2 separate regions of the Homo sapiens genome follow, and region 1 is linked to region 2. Evidence: promoter capture Hi-C in human tissues and cell types (Jung and others, 2019). All regions are on one chromosome and are shown on one strand. Each heading gives the region's core, a stretch centred on a gene start or on the middle of the fragment in contact. The rest is flanking DNA. Distances are from core to core; before and after follow the strand shown.

Region 1 (5,355 bases), core at 2,384-4,883, 110 kb before region 2:
CACTACAACCTCCGCCTCCTGGGTTCAAGTGATTCTCCTGCCTCAGCCTCCCAAGTAGCTGGGATTATAGGCATGTGCCACCACACCCACCTAATTTTTGGTATTTTTAGTAGAAACTGGGTTTCACCACATTGGCCAGACTGGTCTTAAACTACTAACCTCAGGTGATCTGTCCGCCTCAGCCTCCCAAAATGCTGGGATTACAGATGTGAGCCACTGTGCCCAGCCTCTTTTTTTAGTGTATTTAAGGTAATTGATTGAAAGTTTTTGTCTAGTCATTCAAATGTCTAGGCTTCCTCAGGAACAGTTTCTATTAATTTCTTTATTTTTAAAAAATTTTTTTTAATTTTCTTTTTTTTTTAGATGGAGTCTCACTCTATAGCCTAGGCTGGAGTGCAATGGCTTGATCTTGGCTCACTGCAACCTCTGCCTCCTGGGTTCAAGCGATTCTCCTGCTTCAGCCTCCTGAGTAGCTGGGACTATAGGTGCGTGCCACCACTCCTGGCTAATTTTTTGTATTTTCAGTAGAGACATGGTTTTGCCGTGTTAGCCAGGATGGTCTCGATCTCGTGACCTCATGATCCTCCTGCCTCGGCCTCCCAAAGTGCTGGAATTACAGGTGTGAGCCACCGCGCCCAGCCTATTTTTTATTTTTTGAGACAAAGTCTCCCTCTCTCACCCAGGCTGTAGTGCAGTGGCACAACCCTGGCACACTGCAGCCTTAACCGTCCAGGCTTAAGTGAGTCTCCCACCTTAGTCTCCTGAGTAGCTAGAACTACAAGCATGTGCCACCATGCCTGGCTGGTTGTGTTGTTACTGTTTTAGACACAGGGTCTTGCTACATTTCTCTGACTGGTCTTGAACTCCTGGGCTCAAGCAGTCATCCCACCTTGGCCTCCCAAGGTGTTGAGATTACAGGTGTGAGCCACCGCACCCGGCCTGTTAATTTCTTTATTTCCGGTGAATGGGCCACACTTTCTTGTTTCTTTGCATGCCTTGTAATTTTTTGTTGAAACCTGCACAATTTGAAGATGATAATGTGGTTACTTTGAAAATCAGATCCTCCGCCCTCTGCAGGGTTCATTGTTGCTGTTTGTTGTGGATTGTCGTTTCTCGTTTGTTTAGTTACTTTCCTGACCTTTTTAAATAAAGATTATATTCTGTCAGGGGTGCTTGTTTCTGTTCTTTTAGGTTAGTGGTTAGCTTGTGCTTTGAAAGAGATTTCTTTAAATATCTAGTGGCAAAAAGGATAAAGAGGCCGGGCGCAGTGGCTCACGCCTGTAATGCTAGGACTTTGGGAAGTGGAGGCGGGTGGATCACTTGAGGTCAGGAGTTTAAGATCAGCCTGGCCAGTATGGTGAAACCCTGTCTCTACTAAAAATACAAAAATTAACCGGGCATGGTGGCACCTGCCTGTAGTCCCAGCTACTGGGAAGACTGAGGCAGGAGAATCGCTTCAACCCAGGGGGCGGAGGTTGCAGTGAGCTGAGATTGCGCCATTGCACTCCAGCCTGGGCAACAGAGCGAGACTCTGTCTCAAATAAAAAAAAAAAAAAAAAGGATAAAGAGTGTCTTCCATCCTTTCCAGGTTGCCTCTGTACTGGGGCAAGTCCTTCAGTGTCCGCCAGGCTGTTCACGGCTTTTCCTCAGCCTTTACTTCTTGCTCCCATGGAGCCTAAGGATGAACCAGAGGTGAAAGTTGAGGGCCTCCTCAGGTGTTTCTGAGCCCCTGTCTAGCCCCAGCTGTGTGCATGGCCTTCTGGATTTCCAAGCATGAACAGGAGCTTTCCAAAGCCCTTAGACCTTCATGTAGCTCTTTTCCCAGCCTCTTCCTTCCTAGGCTTTTCTGTCAGCTCTTTGCCCATCTGTTGTTGTCCCTCCCCCACAACTTCAGGTAGTATCTACCTGTAAATGCCTTCAGGCCAGGCGCGGTGGCTCATACCTGTTATCCCAGCACTTTGGGAGGCCGAGGCGGGTGAATTGCTTGAGGTCAGGAGTTCGAGACCAGCCTGGCCAACATGGTGAAGCCCCGTCTCTAGTAAAAATACAAAAATTAGCTGGGCGTGGTGGGTGCCTGTAATCTCAGCTACTCGGGAGGCTGAAGCAGGAGAATTGCTTGAGCCTGGGAGGCGGAGGTTGCAGTGAGCTGAGATCGTGCCATTGCACTCCAGCCTGGGCGACAGAGTGAGACTCCATCTCGGGGAAAAAAAAAAAAAAAAAATGCCATCAACAGCACGACCCTGGAGGCTGCCCCAGCCCTGAGAGAGTTCGAGGGGGTGAAACAAAGGCAAGCCCTTCAGGGAGACACTAGAAAGATCCAAATGCATAAGCAGGATTCCTTGAGAAAAGGTCTGTATCATCCCTTCTGACACCAGCAAGCCACATCAGAAATACAGGTTGCCTTCCCCATGGCTACATGTGAGCTGGTAGTAGTGGCTGAGCAGAAATAGCCCAGCTGTCCTCCTGAAATTTAGCAGGGTCTTACTTCATTGAGCAGTCATCTGGTTCGTAGACACCAGAGTTACAGAAAAGTTTATTGGGAGGTTTTGACAGTTTAATAGAAAAAAGTTTATTGTGACAGTTTTGACAGCTGAATAGAAAAAAGTTTATTGTGACAGTTTTGACAGCAGAATAGTTGCTTTGCTGGAGAGACGGATCTTTGGAGCTGCCAACTCCATCATTTTGGTGATATCCAGCTCTGTTGCTGAATTTTTAGCTATGCTGTTTTAAGTTATTTTCTTAGTGGTTGCTCTAGAGATGACAATGTACATCTTTAACTTACCACAATGTACTTCAGATTATTACTAACTTAACACTTAAAGTACAGCATTTTTTTTTTTATGGAGTTTCACTCTGTCACCCAGGCTGGAGTGCAATGGTGTGATCTCGGCTCACTGCAACCTCCGCCTCCCAGGTTCACGCCATTCTCCTGCCTCAGCCTCCTGAGTAGCTGGGACTACAGGCACCCCCACCACACCCGGCTAATTTTGTATTTTTAGTAGAGATGAGGTTTCACCATGTTGGTCAGGCTGGTCTCGAACTGCTGACCTCAGGTGATCCGCCCATCTTGGCCTCCCAAAGTGCTGGGATTACAGGTGTGAGCGACTGCACTGAGCCTAAGTATGGCAACGTGTCTATAACATAGATCTACTTCCGTTGTACTATGACATAGTTCCCCCTCCATTTTCCTATAGCACAGTCCCAACCTCCCTTTTCCTCTGACATAGTTCCATCCTCCCTCCTCCTATGACGTCCTCCCTTCTCCTCTGGCATAGCTCCATCCTCCCTTCTCCTATGACACAGCTCCATCCTCCCTTCTCCTCTGACATAGCTCCATCCTCCCTTCTCCTATGACACAGCTCCATCCTCCCTTCTCCTCTGACATAGCTCCATCCTCCCTTCTCCTGTGTCATAGCTCCATCCTCCCTTCTCCTCTGACACAGCTCCATCCTCCCTTCTCCTCTGGCATAGCTCCATCCTCCCTTCTCCTATGACACAGCTCCATCCTCCCTTCTCCTATGACACAGCTCCATCCTCCCTTCTCCTATGACACAGCTCCATCCTCCCTTCTCCTATGACACAGCTCCATCCTCCCTTCTCCTATGACACAGCTCCATCCTCCCTTCTCCTCTGGCATAGCTCCATCCTCCCTTCTCCTCTGACATAGCTCCATCCTCCCTTCTCCTCTGACATAGCTCCATCCTCCCTTCTCCTCTGACATAGCTCCATCCTCCCTTCTCCTCTGACATAGCTCCATCCTCCCTTCTCCTCTGACATAGCTCCATCCTCCCTTCTCCTCTGACATAGTTCCATCCTCCCTTGTCCTCTGACATAGCTCCATCCTCCCTTCTCCTCTGACATAGCTCCATCCCCTCTTCTCCTTCATGTATTATTGCCATATATACATTTATGTATGTTATAACTTCAGCTCTTCAGCGTTATAATTATTGCTTCAAAAGTATTTTGAAAGAAGTTGCCTGGAGGCAGTGGCTTATGCCTTTAACTCCAGCACTTTTGGGGGCTGAGGTGGGCAGATCGCCTGAGCCAGGGAGTTGGAGACCAGCCTGGGCAACATGACGAAACCCATCTCCACCAAAATTACAAAAAATTAGTCTGGCATGGTGGCACGCGCCTGTAGTCCCAGCTATTTGGGGGAGGATCCCAGCTAAGGTGGGAGGATCACTTGAGCCTGGGAAGTCAAGGCTGCAGTGAGCTGAGATTGTGCCACTGCACTCCAGCCTGGGTGCAGATCTTATCTCAGAAGTAAAGGGACTAGGAATGGTGGCTTTTATCTCTAATCCCAGCACTTTGGGAGGCTGAGGTGAGTGGATCACCGGAGGTCAGGAGTTTAAGACCAGCCTGGCCAACATGGTGAAACCCCGTCTCTACTAAAAATACAAAAAGTAGCCGGGTGTGGTGGTGGGTGTCTGTAATCCCAGCTACTCGGGAGGCTGAGGCAAGAGAATCGCTTGAACCTGGGAAGCGGAGGTTGCAGTGAGCAAGATCGCACCACTGCATTACAGCCTAGATGACAGAGCGAGACTCTGCCTAAAAAAAAAAAAAAAAAGAAAAGAAAAGAAATTAAGATCTGGACACTGTGGTTCATGCCTGTAATCCCAAAGCCTTGGGAGGCCAAGGCAGGAGGATCACTTGAGGCCAGGAGTTCAACACCAGCCTGGGCAACATAGCGAGACTCCATCTCTATTTAAAAAAGAAAGAAATTCAAAGAGAAAAAAAGTATACTTGTTTTTTTGTATCATCCATATTTTACCTTTCTTTTTTTTGCCCCTTTTTCTTTCCTGTGAATTTGAGTTACTGTCTAGTGTCATTTCCTTTTAGTCTGAAGAACTTCATTTAGAATTTTTTTTTTTTTTTTTTGAGACAAAGTCTCACTGTGTTGCCCAGGCTGGAGTGCAATGGTGCAGTCTCAGATCACTGCAACCTCTGCCTCCCTGGTTAGAGTGATTTTCCTGCCTCAGCCTCCCAAGTAGCTGAGACTGCAGGCACCTGCCACCACCCCCAGCCAATTTTTTTGGTATTTTTAGTAGAGACAGGGTTTCACTATGTTGGCCAGGCTGGTCTCGAATTCATGACCTCATGATCTGCCTGTCCTGGCCTCCCAAAATGCTGGGATTACCATGAGCCACCACGCCCAGCCCATTTAGAATTTCTTTTTTTTTTTTTTTTTGAGATGGGGTCTCGCTCTTGTTTCCCAGGCTGGAGTGCAGTGGCACGATCTCGGCTCACTGCGAGCTCCGCCTCCCGGGTTCACGCCATTCTCCTGCCTCAGCCTCCCGAGTAGCTGGGATTACAGGCGCCTGCCACCACGCCCACCTAATTTTTTGTATTTTTAGG
Region 2 (5,645 bases), core at 2,596-5,095:
AACAAGGTGAAACCCCGTCTCTACTAAAAATACAAAAAAATTAGCCGGGCGCGGTGGCGGGCGCCTGTAGTCCCAGCTACTCGGGAGGCTGAGGCAGGAGAATGGCGTGAACCCGGGAAGCGGAGCTTGCAGTGAGCCGAGATTGCGCCACTGCAGTCCGCAGTCCGGCCTGGGCGACAGAGCGAGACTCCGTCTCAAAAAAAAAAAAACAAAAAAAAAAAACCACAAAAGATCTGCAAATGCTTTTGAAAAATACACTAATGTTTCTCAACTTTCTATTGTAAAATAGCTATGGTAGCAAATTTTTAATCCAGATAATGATGTTTAGAAGCATTTAATAATTTTAAATTGTAAATTAGAGTAAAACGGCACTGCTGATACTCAACTATGCAACAGAACCATTCAACAGAACACTTTGCATAAATCATACTTAGGTCAAATTTCACTGGTTTCATTTGTTTTTATGCTTTAACAGGACAATGTTTTATTTGTTTATTTATTACTTAATTTTATTGTTTTAGAGACAAGGCCTCGCTCTGTTGCCCAGGCTGGAGTCCAGTGGCACAATCATAGTTCATTACAGCCTCAAACTCCTGGCCTCAAGCGGCCCGCCCGCCTCAGCCTCCCAAAGCACTGGGATTACAGGCGTGAGCCACCACGCCCAGCCTCAGAACCACTTTTAGGTTGTTAAAAAACATCCTTTCTCTTTTCCATCTATAAACAACACCATTGGGGCCCTTTGTCATCACCAGCAAACCAGAACACCAAGCCTGGGTCTGTATATGTGAGGCACTCAAAGGGTCTAAGTGATAACAGAAAAGCAGGAAAATCCCTCCCATGGACCCCATGGCCTAAGACCCCAGCACTCCGCACAAGTTCACAGCTACGCCGCAGCCGCGGCAGACGGCAAGAGGACCACAATCAGGATAAGGCGGCGGCCTCTCAAAGCCCTGAATAAGTCTGTGGCCTTAATAGAGATTTTGAATCAAACATTTATTCTTAGGAGTCAGGCCATTCAAGCAAACTTAGCAGCAACAAGATGAATTTTTCCCCCAGGGGAGGGGACAGATTCAAAGGGTATTTTTTTTTTTAAATCTGCTAGAAAAACCAGTAGAGGGAAGTATCAACCATCACTCAAGGTCACTCATGAGACTTCCAGGTAAAACATGCAAAGCCCAGGGAGAAGCAGCAGCCTGAGTTTTTACAAGAACGGTACTTAGGCAAGAACACGAAGTCCCCAGGACAGGGAACCTACCACGGCAGACGCCGTGACACTGGGTGTGCGGATGGGAAGGGGCAAGGACTTCTAGACCTTTCCTCTCACTTTAACTCAGCAGTGGAGCGGGTGCCTGGGCACCAGTCACGGCAGTGGGAGGAACCGGCTCCAGTTCTCAGGCTGTGGAGCCGTCTAGGCACCGTGCACGAAGTGGGTCTCCAGGGCTCTGAGAGGCCGGGCTAAGACCTCTGATGGAGAACAGAGCACTGGAGCTGCACCGCTGTCCCAGAAACACAGGCCACAGGGACAGAGTGGCCCAATTTCCCTTAATTTAAAAACCCCACGTCAGGGCAGTGTTGGAAAGTTCACTCTGCTAAAATTTAATTCAGTGTTTGTAAATAGTACATCGTCTGACAATAACAACTGTGTACCCCCCACGGCATTTCCTCTAAATCCTTGGAGCAGTTTCACCGTTCACAGGGTTTACCTCCTGACCTCTGTGACCACCAGGGGCTGGGGAGGGACGGAGGACGCAGGGCACTGGGTCAGCCTGGCCCTGGTGGAACTGACCTGGGGGCCCTTAGGTAACAGTCCACCCAACCCGAACATCCGAAACAGGAGTGGAACTCAGGTCTGAGCACAGAACGACTCATCCTCACACAAAACAGCTAAACCCGAACAGAAATCACCTCATCTAAGCAAAAGAAAACTCTCACGTTCAGGATAATGCTGTCAGTGAGAGGCTTAATTAAATGCTTGTCCCCAGGCTGGCCTGAAGGCAAGGCGGAATTTCGGATTTCTAAACACCTCAAAGTGAGTGCATTCCACGCCCCAAGGAGAAATCTGACAGTAACTCCCCAGCCCTCTTCCTTCAGTTACGGAGAAGATGTCTAGCTTTTTAGGGGACACAGTAAGTTCCCACCTAAATTTGCAGTAACTTGTGCCCAAGTACTCCCCTCACTCCTCAGTCCTTTCTGCAGTGGTAACCAGGCTGAGGTGCCCAAAAGTGCCAGTTGGAAACACGTAAAACACACCGAGCAGAAAGGTTCTACTCTGATAAATACTGTCGCTTGCTTCATTATTCATGTGAAAAACCCCTTCTATACATTTCCTTTTGATGAACAAACTATTTTCCACTCTTGTAGAGTGAAATAGTGCCTTGCAGAGGCAGCGTGAGTGCCAGCAGCAGAGATGTATCCAGTCTGTTACCCAAACGGGAAGTTAGCTCTGATAATAGAGCCAATATGAAAGATTCTACAATCGATACAATTAAAATGCCCGTGAGTTCTCGGCGCACAGGTGTCTGCGCCCAGGCCGCGCGCTAAACACGTTTCTAATTAGCATTTCTTTAAACAATGCTGATCACAATCTTGCCACCGTAATCCACTCCAAATGCATCGTTGAGATTGCAGCACGGAAAGCGAGAGAGGAAATTCGCTGCGAATCTCAAACTTTCTTTTGTTTATATTTCTTCGCTGTCAGAAAATATCCGTTCTTCGCCCCATCTGGTCTGTACCCTGGCTCCTCGGTCCAGCCCTATTGTGTGTGCTTCGTTAAACCTACAAACAGTGAATCTGTCAGCGGGGCCAGGGGAACCCCAACTAGCAGGAGCCCTCCCTCTGGCGCAGAGAATTCCCCGTTTGCCTTAGGGATTGAGTTGTCAGACACCGGCTCGCGCTCCCCCGCGAAACTGACATGTCTATTTACAGAGAAACAAAGACGCGGCTCGCAGCGGACCCCGCTTCCTCCGCGCGCCCCGTCCGCCCCGCGCGCCCCGAGCCCTCCGCGCCCCGAGCCGCCCCGCCCCGAGGCCCCTGCGCCCCGGTTCGGCCGGCGATTAAGATGGAGACCAGGCCGGCGCCCGGCGTCCGGGGAGACAATGACCCCCCGGCCTCAGGGCGCCGGGACCCGCCCGCGCCCACCTCCCGCAGTTCCGACTCTTGGCAAACTCGGCGCGGGCGGCTCCGGGTGCGGCTGGGCTGTGCCGGCGGGGGGCGCGGGCGGGGGGCGCCAAGACGCCCCCGGGCTGCCTCGGGGCCAGGCGTTGACGCAGCAGAAATTACCAGCTGGAAAATTCCCCTCTCGGAGGTGCCGGGGAGGGAGCGCGGCGGCGGCGGGAGGTGCCGGGGGCCGAGGGGCCGGGGCAGCCCAGCCGCCTCCGCGCTCAGCCCCGCGGGGAACCCGCGCCGCCCCCGCGCGCCCCGCCCCGCGCCGCCGGCCTGGGGGGCACCCGCGGGGGCCGGGCCGGGGTCTCCGCCGCCGCCCCCGGAGCCCGCGCCGCAGCTGGGAGCGCCGATGGCCCCCGGGAGGGCGCCCCCGCGGGGCGGGGCGTGGCGGGGCGGCCGGCGGCGGGGGCGCGCCCGGGCTCGCAGCGGCCCCGGCTCCCGGCTCCCGGCTCCGGGCCCGGCCCCCGCCGCGATGCGCCCGCCCGGCCGCGCGGACAATGAGCCGGCGCCGCTTACCTGTGACCCCATGGGGCGCGGGCGAGGGCGGGCGCCGCGGCCGCCGGGCCGGCGCCGGTGATCGCCGCCGCCGCCGGGAGGGCGCTGCGTCCGGGCGGGTCCGAGCTGCGCGCTCGCCGGGGCTGCTCGGTCCGTCCGTCCGTCCGTCGGTCCGTCAGGCCGGCGCGCGCCCCCGCGCCCGCTCCAACCCCGCGGCCCCCGCCGCCCGCGCGCGCGCGCCCCGCCCGCGGACCCTGACCCCGCCCCCCGGCGCGCGCCCGGCCGCCGCTGATTGGCCCGCGCCGCGCCCCGGCCGCGGCCACCGCCCCGGGCCCCGCCCACGCCGGCCCGGCCGCCGGCCCCGCCCCTCGCTCGGCTCCCGGCGCCGCGCCGCGGGGTCGCAGGGGGCCGCGCCGGGGGTCCGTTCTCCCCCCCGCGGGCAGCCGGACAGCGGAAGTGCGGGCTGGAGCTCGCTGGGCATTGTGGGAAGCCCCCTCCCCTGGGCTGGCGGGGGGCTGGGGCGGCGCGGCGCGGGGGTCCCCCTGGCCCCCGCTGCGCCCTTGCCCCGCGAGCGCGGAGCAGCCTGGAAACACCCCACGGGAGCGGCGACCCCGGCGAGGGCACCCGCTCCCTTCCCGGGCCGCGCACCGGGCGCTGCCCACGCGCAGGTTCCTCGGGGGCGCGCGGGTGCCCAGGTCACCGGCCGTCCCCGCGCCTGACGCGCGGTTGCACTGCGCGCGTCTCGCAAACTTGGCGACTCCCCCAGCCCGGCCGGGCATCAACGCGGGCCGCTCGCGGTGCGGAAAAGGCGCCCCCAAGGAAGGCCGCCCGGGGTGCGGGGTCTGGAAGGGCCTGGGCACCGCGCGCGCCTACCCTCGGGGGCCTCGGCGCACCCGGAGATCGGCGCACCTCGGGCGCAGGCCTCGTGGGGGTGCCCGCCAGTGGGGCTCGCTTTTGGCTGACTAGGGGCACCGGCGGCCGCGCGTGGGTCCCTCCCGTCGTGTTGTCTGCGGGGGACGAATGGCTCCGGGAGGGGGCGGGAACCAGCGGCCCGGGCCTCGCCCCAGCCCGTGTGCAGCCCCGATCCGAACGGCCTGGGACGCGTCTCCACCACTCGGCGCCCGGACTCTGCGCGTCGCTTCTCGCCTCCGCCGTCCTCAGCCCTCGGGCGGGTAGAGTGGGAAGCGCGGCCCCGCATTCCTGGCCGGCCTGCGCAGGGGTAAAGGCCACCTCGCTTCCTCTCCCCGGGCGCGGCGGGAAGGGAGGTGAGCCTGTGGCCGGCAGCCGCGCGAGGGAGTCGAGCCCGGCCCGGCCAACCAATGGGGAGGCGCCCGGGCCGTCCAGCCTGCCTCCCTGCGGGCCCAGCGCAGCGGATTCCTCGGGAGGTGGGAGGCGGCGGCCCTATGGGTGCTTTCAAATCTGGATGTGTGAGGCGCATTCAGGAGCGGCAGTGGGAGGCGGCTGAGGGCTCTCCATGAGTGAGCAAAGGCGAAGCGAGGTGTGGCTGCCGGGACCAACGCCTGGGACACTCCCTTACTGCCGTCGCGGGCGCCTGGAAATGGCTGTGCGGACACCCCGTTCCCATCCCCTCGCCAAGGTCGCCGGGATGGCACTGCGGCCCAGGAAGCCCCGTCGCCGGCCTACCTCGCGCGGCACCCTCTCGGTGGCACTGCCTGCTCTGGTCTGAAACTGTAGCCCCAGCCTCACCGACCTTCGGGAAGTGGGGGCTGAGCACAACCACCCTGAGAAGAGGCGGCTTCCAGGAGGGTCTGGCGGGTCACGTGCATCCCCCTTGGAGAAAACAGCACTGCCTGCAGGAGCCCCCACCTGCCCACCCAGAGCCCAGTTGTACCCCACGGAGGAAAGGAGGCCTGGGGAGACAGGAGAGCTCGGGCCCACCGAGCCAAAGCAAGGAGGACCAGAGCCCTGATGCCTGCCCCAAGGGCCTCCCGCAGAGCCTGCCCATGCTCTCTTGCGCAAAAGAGAAC

What was found. Contacts are between HindIII fragments. The study calls those that stand out against the background at their distance.
Region 1: a contact is called between a fragment that was not itself captured here and the fragment with the promoter of ZBTB46 in region 2, in 7 of the 25 tissues and cell types used here (dorsolateral prefrontal cortex, heart left ventricle, liver and 4 more).

The regions. Positions count from the first base shown.
Region 1 is chr20:63,719,814-63,725,168 of GRCh38, forward strand. The region is part of intron 2 of ZGPAT (zinc finger CCCH-type and G-patch domain containing); the gene reads left to right. Among named protein-coding and RNA genes, the nearest start is that of LIME1, 14 kb to the right of the region's middle. The HindIII fragment of the contact is 9,604 bases long and covers 1-5,355 here.
Region 2 is chr20:63,827,419-63,833,063 of GRCh38, forward strand. ZBTB46 (zinc finger and BTB domain containing 46) reads right to left here and starts at 3,846. Exons shown (of 5, transcript NM_001369741.1): 1 at 3,679-3,846. RefSeq lists an enhancer at 1,590-2,281 and a silencer at 3,864-4,003. The HindIII fragment of the contact is 9,346 bases long and covers 1-5,645 here.